Regions from separate parts of the Homo sapiens genome. Here region 1 is linked to region 2. The links are contacts of gene promoters, found by promoter capture Hi-C in human tissues and cell types (Jung and others, 2019). All regions are on one chromosome and are shown on one strand. The core of a region is centred on a gene start or on the middle of the fragment in contact, and the rest is flanking DNA. Distances in the headings are between cores, read along the strand shown.

Evidence for each region. Contacts are between HindIII fragments. The study calls those that stand out against the background at their distance.
Region 1: a contact is called between a fragment that was not itself captured here and the fragment with the promoter of NANS in region 2, in 1 of the 25 tissues and cell types used here (pancreas).

What each region holds. Positions count from the first base shown.
Region 1 is chr9:97,722,006-97,727,117 of GRCh38, forward strand. It overlaps PTCSC2 (papillary thyroid carcinoma susceptibility candidate 2), which reads right to left. Exons shown (of 11, transcript NR_147055.1): 6 at 2,408-2,525; 7 at 795-929. Among named protein-coding and RNA genes, the nearest start is that of XPA, 27 kb to the left of the region's middle. The HindIII fragment of the contact is 4,075 bases long and covers 1-3,937 here.
Region 2 is chr9:98,053,922-98,058,608 of GRCh38, forward strand. NANS (N-acetylneuraminate synthase) reads left to right here and starts at 2,811. Exons shown (of 6, transcript NM_018946.4): 1 at 2,811-3,019. The coding sequence starts at 2,888. It also overlaps a transcript of TRIM14 not described here. RefSeq lists enhancers at 2,320-2,369, 3,410-3,529 and silencers at 2,560-2,909, 2,990-3,159. The HindIII fragment of the contact is 24,529 bases long and covers 1-4,687 here.

The DNA of each region.
Region 1 (5,112 bases), core at 650-3,149, 330 kb before region 2:
TAGTGTTCTTTTCCCTATCTCAGAGTCATCATGTGGGTTACAAGGTAAGAATCAGGGACCAATTTAGACATGACCTACTCCACCCCTTATTTTACAAATGAGGAACTTGGGACCCAGAGAAAGTAAGTTACCTGCCCAAGATTACCCAGCAAGTCAGTAGCTGAGCTGGGGCTGGAACTCAGCCTTCAGGAGAGACCCTTTTTCTTTTTAGCAGGCTGGTGAGATGTATACAATAAACCATAACATGCTATGTAAATGTCATTTGAGGTTACCTGTCTTAAAGATGCCTAGACATCAGTGTACCTGTTTCTTTTCGTAAAGTTTTGTTCCAATGAACGAAGCCCCAAGCCTGTGCTTTTCAGCCTTTGAAGGAAGCCTACAGGGTATTTGAGTTATCTTTGCAACTGTGGGCCTCTGGTCCTAATTCCATCATGGCCACTGTCTGCTGAAGACAGCAGTGACTTTGCCTGGCCCTCCCTGCCCCTTGATCAGGAATGCAGGGAATTAGCCTCATGCATAAGGCCACTTGACCTTCTGCAGGGTGACATGGTGATGAGGACAGGCGGGGGGACCTTTTAGTGGCAAATGGTTCTTCCCTGAATTGGGTAAACATTCTTGAAATGTACACATCACTCTCAAATATTTGTCTCCCTGACTTGTACTTTTTTCTTTCCAAGTTGTATGGAACTAGAAAACAACCTGGGAGGTTTCCAATCAATGAATACCACAATCCAAAATAAAATGTCTTCTTTCTTCTTTCCTATCATTAAAAATAAAATGAAAGAGTACACTACCTTAAGGAACAAGGCCATTTTCATTGTGTGGAGAACAGTGGTGTTTGAAATAGCAGGAACAGGCAGAAAGGAGGTTTGGTCACCTTATTTTAAACAGCTAAAGCCACCCAAATCTCTATTTCTGTTCTCTCATACCTAGAGACACAAAAAAATTCACAAAAAATAATAAAACCTAGTTAGAATGTAAAGGAGTCAATCAGTTTTCACTTGCAGCAGATTAAATGGTCTAGAATGAAATGAGAGGCATGGAGAGGTCTCCTGGCCCCTCAGACGTGCTCTCCAAATGTGGAGGCCAGTTCTTTGCATCACTCCACAGTGCATCCCCACACAGATGGCAGAGTGTGAAAGCGTATTGCAACCCAAATCAGCATCTTCCCTTTAGTACAGTATTTAAAAGGACTGGCCAGGTGCAGGTGCTCATGCCTGTAGTCCCAACACTTTTTTTTTTTTTTTGAGACAGAGTCTCACTCTGTTGCACAGGCTGGGATTCAGTGGTGCCATCTTGGTTCACTGCAGTGTCCGCCTCCTGGGCTGAAGCAATTCTCCTGCCTCAGCCTCCCGAGTAGCTGGGATTACAGGCACGCATCACCACACCTGGCTAATTTTTGTATTTTTAGTAGAGACTGGGTTTCACCATGTTGGCCAGGCTGGTCTTGAACTCCTGACCTCAAATGATCTACCTGCCTCCGCCTCCCAAAGTGCTGGGATTACAGGCATGAGCCACTGCGCCCTGCCTGTAATCCCAACATTTTGAGAGGTGGCAGCAGGAGGACTGCTTGAGGCCAGGAGTTTGAGACCAGCTACATAGCAACATAACGAGACCCCATCTCTACAAAAAATCTTAAAAATTAGCTGGGCTTGCACTTGTAGTCTGAGCTACTTGAGAGGCTAGGGCAGGAGGATTGTTAGAGCCCATGAGTTTGAAGTTAATGAGCTACAATCGTGCCACTGCACTCCAGCCTGGATGACAGAGCAAGACCCTTTCTCTAGATAAAAATTTAAAAATAGAAAAAAGTTTACAAAAAATACAAGACAGCCTCGGTTAAAGCAGAAGTCACTGGCTGCTTTTCCATTTTTGATAGCAGAAGCTTAAATAGATGTGAGTGACTGCAGTTAATGGAAAACATGAAGTCTTCAGCTAAGACTTTTGATCCATGAGAAAACTTCTTCCATTTCAGTTTGAATTCCTTCAGCAGTAGTCATTGAGAACCTACCCATAGAGTAGGTACACTCTGCACTCTGCCAGGTGGAGGGATTAGATTTCATTCTTCCCTTCTGTAAGAGGGGAAGACAGACATATCACCTCTTAATTCAAAAACAAGGTGCAATGAGGCAGGTGCTAAGTAGAGGTGCATGTAACGTAGTCAAGGTAATGTAAAACAGAAACAGAAAAATTCTGATAGGAGGGAAATAATCAAGAAAGCTTCATGGAGGAGTTGGGGCAAGAAGGATTCTGGGCTGGGTGTGGCGGCTCATGCCTGTGATCCCAACAGTTTGAGAGGCTGAGGTGGGAGGATAGTTTGAAGCCAGGAGTTTGAGACCAGCCTAGTGAATATAGTGAGACCCGTCTCTACAAAAAATTTAAAAAATTATCCAGGCATGGTGGTGCGTACCTGGAGTCCCAGCTACTTGGGAGGCTGATGTGGGAGGATCACTTGAGCGCAGGAGTTTGAGGCTGCAGTGAGCCATGATTGTGCCACTGCACTCCAGCCTGGGTGGCAGAGAGAGATCCTGTCTCAAAAACAAAAACAAAAACAGGTTAACATTAGGGAATACTTTGTGATGATATATGGGAATTTTCTGCATTACCTCTGTAACTTTTCTATAAATAAAAAATGTCCCCCTAAGGTGTCACACCCTTTGAAGATTCTTATTCAAATCAATGTTTTCCATGATAGTTGGAAAATGATGATCTTCCAACTTTAGCACCATCTTCACATTTAATGGTTGGCATTTTACTGTAAGCAGGAGCCCTCTCCTCTCTCCTGTTTCTTATCTACTTATTATTGATCTATTTATTCTTGCACAGACTCATAGATTCCTATTTTTCAATGGTTTATTTTCTTTATTTTCTTAATTATGTTGATGCTCAAATTGTCCTAGATTTGGCCAGTGGAAGCCTCTTCAAGTTGATTTCCTTGTCCTTTTGACAGGTCCCCATCACTTTTTTGAGCACTGCCTTACTTTCCAGCACAAGGTATTTAATGCTTATTTTGTAAAGGAAAAGTGTGTGATTAGAACAAAAAAAGGGGCCCTCACAGATCAACAAAGATGGTTGTGCATTGGCAATTATAGGTATAATTAAGTGCAAATTATTTTGAGCATATAACACAGAAAGAAATAACTGCACAGAAAAAAGAAAGGACCATAATAAAAGACTAAAAGAAACTCTTGGAATTATGAAAAGTTTTTTTCATATTGTTCTTTTTTTCTGTATATTCAAAATTTTATGTAATGAGAATGTATTAGTTTTATAATGAGAAAAATTACATAAAAGGTTTTTCCTTTTTAAGAATAATGGAGTGGACGAGCTCTGAGACATTACAACAGGATAAATAAATATGTCCAAAACACCAATAAAGATGCCTGAAAACACCTCTTCACGATCATCAGTCACACTATCAAAAACTATCAGTCCTATGGCTGAACCAGGGTTGGAAAATGTGGGTTTCTATATCTTATTCTATGGTGTACCTCTTGGGTTACTTTGTCTAATCACTTCATCAATTTGGGTCTTAACTTCCTCACCTGAAAAAGAGGATAATAACTTCTTGCTATATTAGCAATGTAATGAGACTCAAATGAAACCATGTATATGAAAACTCCTTTAAAATGCTACAAAAGTAAATGGTTTTATAAAAGAGCTTTTTTAAAAATGGCTGCTTTATTGAAACGTTTTAACAGTTTCTTTTTTAAAAAAGCAGCCAATTTGGAGGACCTACGCATTTGGATGGTGAAGCCCTTTGGCAGTCTGAGTAAGCCCATTTGGGTTCTGTGTTGCAGCCTGGGCAACTACCTCTCCATGGCTGCATCTTAATTGGGGTCCCCAGAAGAAACCCTGGAGGAAGATTCATGTGAAAGTGATGTATTAGGAAGTGCTCCCAGAAAAAATGGTAAGGCAGTGGGGCACCGTATCACACAAGGCACTCGGAGGAGAACTTTGGCTTAATCCCACCAGGGAGCTCTGGTGAGGGTCACACCCGTGAGTCGTCCTGGTCAGGGGCTGGGGGCTAGAGTACTTATGCCTCAGCACCCATCAATTACTAGAAAAAGAGTGGGTGGGGGTGGGTAATCTCCCAGGTACTTCCAGCTCTCCTGTGTGCGGACAGAACAGTCGCCAGCAGCCCTGGACTCTATCCTCTGACAAAGAGATGCAGATGCTGGCCACAGGTAGGCCCCCAATGGTAAAGGAATCTAAATGGATATGCACTGACAATATCAGCTCAAAGAAGGACTAATTCCTTCCAGGCTGGACGTTCAGAACACGAGAAATGAGAACAAGAGACACATAGGACAGGCCTCTCTGGAGACGGCCCAGAGAGGTTGAGTGACCTATCAGGGTCACTCAGGTGGCAGAGTCAGGATTCCAGCCCTGGTGTATCTGACTCCAAATCCCATGTGCCCTTTTCTGTGCCCTACTGTCTCACTACATGAGCTAATGCCTTATCTATGGAGGACCACCCATAGGAAATCTTTCATGTACCACAAAATCCTACACACCCCATCTGCCCTCAGAAATCCAAAGCCCTCATGGGTGTCCCCAGGTTGACATTAATGTCCCCTTCCCTATAATCACCCCTGTCCTCTTGAATTTGTCCAGCATCAGGGATCAAGGTGAATTAAATTATGACCTTATGAACTCCACAGAGAGACACCTATGTCTCAGATACAGGGTGGCCCATCTCCTGGCTGCAACGGCAGTATTAGTGATTTAAGTTAGATAAACAGGTACCATCCCTAACAAAAAACCTTGTGAGCTCATCGGCTTGTTTCTCTTTTATTGTATTTAAAGGCAATTTCCCCACATCCTGCATCTTGAACATGAGCAAACATGTGAAGGAGCCAGACACACAGAAGCTGAAGCCATGCAGACCTCACATGTAGCCAGGGAGCAATGGTCTTGAGTCCCAGTTTGATGGCTGGTCCTGCCACAGACGAGCTGAGGGATCTTGTGCAAGACACACAATCTCTTTGGGACTGATCATCCTCATCCATAAAATGGGAAGGCTGTCCCTACCTATCATGTTATGGTGAGGATAAACGATATATCAAAAGGGCTTCATAAAATGTCAAGCTCAGCCGGGCGCAGTGCCTCAAG
Region 2 (4,687 bases), core at 1,561-4,060:
AACATTTTCCGTCTCAGCTGAAGCAAAATACACATAACAAAACAGATAGTAGTCACCTCATTGGGCACCCAGTATCACCCTAGCAAGGCTCAAACTGTCTTCCTTTGGTCCCTATCATCTTTGATCCACTCAAGGTGGGGAGGGATGGCATCAATGAGTAGTCTCTGGGCAAGACAAAGAGCAGAGAGTTACCCCTTAACAGTCAGGCCTGTTAAGCTTTTTTTTCAGAGCTCACTGAATGTGACCATACTTACAGAGGGTTTTCTGAGTTAGGCCTGCTGGACTTGCATCAGAAATTCCCTCAGAGATCCCCTCCACATATACAAACACACACACAAAGACAAGACGGACAGAAGGCCTTCCAAACCAAGATCCCTAACCAAGAATTCCAAGAGTATTCCTTCCAAACTATCCTATTCTCCATCTGAGAAGTCTCCCCGAAATCTTACTGATTGAGGAGAAGTCTCCAGAACCAAGACTCTTCCTACTAATTAGGGAGAGTAAACCGAGACCCCTGAAGAAGCTGAACCAATTGGGAGAAGGAAAGGGGTGTTGGCAGCACCTAGACTACTCACCAAATCAGACACCCCATAATGGGGCTGCAGCTGCAGACAATCCATGATGGGGCTACAAACAGACACTGTGATAAGGTTACAGTTACAGGCACCCCATGGTGGAGCTACAGAGGGACACCTTGCCATGGAGCTCTAGTTATGAGATATCTCCCCAGGACAATTTCTCTATTGCAAAGTGTACTCCATACATATTGGGCTAGTAGTGCCCTGCCGATAGAGATGACGCCAGAGTCAGCCCCCAGTCCAAAACTAGGTGGCCGCTTGGGCTGGCCTCTGGATCCATCGCCAGAGGGGGTCTACAGAACCGGGGCAGGTAGCACAAGAGCAATCCCGAATGAGCCCCCAAATTTTTAACTGCTCAACTGGTTCACCATGCCCACTACCTACACAGCTGATTTATCAAAATAGGGGAATTGCAATAGAGAGAGTAATTCATGCAGAGCCAGCTGTGCAGTCTGGCTGAGTTTTATTATTACTCACATCAATTTCCCCTAGCATTCAGGGATCAGAGGTTTTTGGGGTTTTTGTTTGTTTGTTTTTGAAATGGAGTTTCGCTCTTGTTGCCCAGGCTGGAGTGCAATGGCACAATCTCAGCTCACTGCAACCTCCGCCTCCCAGGTTTAAGCGATTCTCCTACCTCAGCCTCCCAAGTAGTTGGGATTACAGGCATGCACCACCATACCTGGCTCATTTTGTATTTTTAGTAGAGACAGGGTTTCACCATGTTGGCAAGGCTGGTCTCGAACTCCTGACCTCAGGTGATCCACCCGCCTCAGCCTCCCAAAGTGCTAGGATTACAGGTGTGAGCCACTATGCCCCACCTTGGAGATCAGAGTTTTTAAGGATAATGTGGTGGGTTAAGAGAGGCCAGTATGCCAGGAGTGCTGATTGGTTGTGTTGGAGATAAAATCATAGAAAGTCAAGGCTGTCTTCTTGTGCCAAGTCAGTTCCTGGTTGGGGGACACAAGATCAGATGAACCAGTTTATCAATCTGGTGGTGCCAGCTGATCCATCAAGTGCAGGGTCTGCAAAATATCTCAAGCACTGGTCTTAGGTTTTACAATAGTGATGTTATCCCCAGGAGCAATTTGGGGAGGGTCAGAATCTTGTAGCCTCCAGGTGCATGACTCCTACGTGTCTAATCTTGTGGCTAATTTGTTAGTCCTACAAAGGCAGTCTAGTTCCCAGGAAAGAAGGAGGTTTATTTTGGGAAATAACTTATCTTATTTTTTAAATTAATTAATTAATTTATTTATTTTTGAGACAGAGTCTTGCAGTGTCACCAGGCTGGAGTGCAGTGGTGTGATCTGGGCTCACTGCAACCTCCACCTCCCGGGTTCAAGCGATTCTCCTGCCTCAGCCTCTCGAGTAGCTGGGATTACAGGCACGCACCACCACGCCCGGCTAATTTTTTTGTATTTTTAGTAGAGACGGGGTTTCTCCATATTGGTCAGGCTGGTCTCGAACTCCTGACCTCAGGTGATCTGCCTGCCTTGGCCTCCCAAAGTGCTGGGATTACAGGTGTGAGCCACCGCGCCCGCCCAGGTGATTGTATTTTAAGAGCCTGGGGCTGGGAGGTCCGGGTACTAGTCCCATCTCTGCTTTGGCTTTCTGGATGGCTTTGGACAAGCCAGTGCAACTTCTCGAACCTGTTGCCTCTCATATAATAGGAACCTCCGCCACTTCTTGAAAACTTACTACAAGCCAAGTATTGTGATCAGGGGTTTCTATACGTCATCTCACAGTTCTATTTTATTTTTTTGCTTCAGAGAGAAACAAAAATAACGCTCCGGAAGACTGAGTAACGTATATATGAGCAGGAGCTGGTGACTGGCATAGGCTGGACTCGATCCAGCTCTGTGATTCTAACTCTAGCAACCCTGTTTTTTCCATTACACCATAGGGCGCGCTCTCCCCATGCTCCTGAGAGCAGGACATAGACTATGCCCTGCGCAGGCAGCCGTCCGCCTCCTGCAGGGAATGCTTGCTCCTGGGTGCACGCACGGATACCGCGATGGTCCGAGACCACGCTCTGGGACAGCAAGCCTCAAGCCTCGCACAGGAGAGGGCCGCGGAGCTTCCTCGACCCGCCCCGCCGCCCTTCCCGCGGGAGGCCCCGCCCCCGCCCCCCGCCCCGATTGGCTGTCGGGAGAGAGGCGGGGCCTAGGGGATTGGCTGCCCGGCGACCGCGGGCTGACGTGGCGGGGCTGGCGTGTGGGTCTCGCAGCGTTGCTCACAGAACAGAGTAGAGGCGGCGGCGGCGGCGGCCGGACCCAGACTGGTAGTGAGGCTTTGGACCCCGAGCCGCTGCAATGCCGCTGGAGCTGGAGCTGTGTCCCGGGCGCTGGGTGGGCGGGCAACACCCGTGCTTCATCATTGCCGAGATCGGCCAGAACCACCAGGGCGACCTGGACGTAGCCAAGCGCATGATCCGCATGGCCAAGGTGAGGCGGCAGCTCCCGGGACCCGGGATTCGGGCGCCGGGAGGGGCGGGGCGGGGCCGCGGGGAGCCAGGGCCACACGGCCTCCGCGGCTGGGTACCCTGGTCCGGCCTCTTCCCGCCCGCCAGTTCCGTTTTCGGAATCCTTCGGATCCCTCTTCCTCACCGTGTCCGCCACCCTCGTGACCTTTCTGCATTACAGCAGCTGCCTCCTAACCCGACCTGTTTCCTCCCCGTTCTGGTGCCAGAATAATCTTTCTAAAAGTCAGACTTGATCAGACCATCCCCCCTGCCTGGCACCTTCTGTGGCTCCCTCCTGCCCGCGGGTAGAGTCGAAACCCTTTAACATAGCCTTCAAGATTTTAATGACTGGGCCCCTTCCAGCCCGTCATAATTCTTCTCTGACATTCTTCAGCGACACAGAGTTACTTTCAGGAATGACAGTTCCTGGAAGTTGCTGTGGTCTCTCTCACCCGCCATTCCCTGTATATGAAATATGAAGTGGTTAAAAGCCGGGCCTTTGAGTTCAAATCTCAGTTCCACCACTACTAGCTGTGTGAACATGGGCTGCTTACTTAGCCTCCGTGAACCCTTTTCCCCATTTGAAAACGGGGCTTGAAAACAACAGTTCTTTCCACATGGAGTTGTTATGGGGATCAAATGAGATTCTCAGATAGAGCTCTGAGCCCAGCACTTGGCACACATGAGTCGGTAAATGCGTGCTCCCTCTTCTGTTGGGACTGCCATATTCTTCATTACGACCCCAGCCCCCAGCATAAGGCCTGGCCTGCACTATGATTCTTTGGTTTAGAGATAGCTCACCCCATCTTTCCTTTCCCTTCATCAATGCTACTCAACTGATTTTGTATCATTTGTGATAGGTTTTTTAAATGTTTATTTATTTATTTATCTATGTTAGAGACAGGGTCTTGCTCTGTCACCCAGGCTGGAGGTTTTCTCTTACTGTTTTTTTTTTTTTTTCCTGGTTTTTTTTTTTTTTTTTTTTGAGACAGGGTCTCTGTATCACCCAGGCTGGAGTGCAGTGGCATGATCCCGGCTCACTGCAACCTCTGCCTCCCAGGCTTAAGTGATTCTCCCACCTCAGCCTCCCGAGTAGCTGGGACCCACAGGCGTGAACCACCATGCTGGGCTAATTTTTTTGTAGAGATGGGGTTTGGCCATGTTACCCAGGCTGGTCTCGAACTCCTGAGCTCAAGCAATCTGCCCACCTTGGCCTCCGAAAGTGCTGGGATTACAGGTGTGAGCCACCACCCTCGGCCCTTGCTGTTCCTTCGGGACTGGTTTTATGGAAACCTAATCACTGAATCATAAAAATACTTTACAAAAATAACATTGCTAACATTTTTTGAGTGCTTACTCTACCAGGTACTAAGCTAAATGCTGTACATGCACCATCTCATTTAATTTTTACAACAACCCAATGCCATGATGCTGCCGATTTCATTTTAAAGGCTAAGAGAAAATAAGTGACTTAGGCAAGGTCACATAGCTAGTATAATAAATACAGTAAGGGGTTTTTTCAGTTTTTGCTCCTAAGCCACAGGACTCCAGCCTTTCTTCTGCAACATTGTTTTCTAGAGGGAAATTCCCACTCTTAATTTGAAGGAGCAGTCTGTTTTTCCTCTTGGAATGCCGAAGTTGTAGAAATATC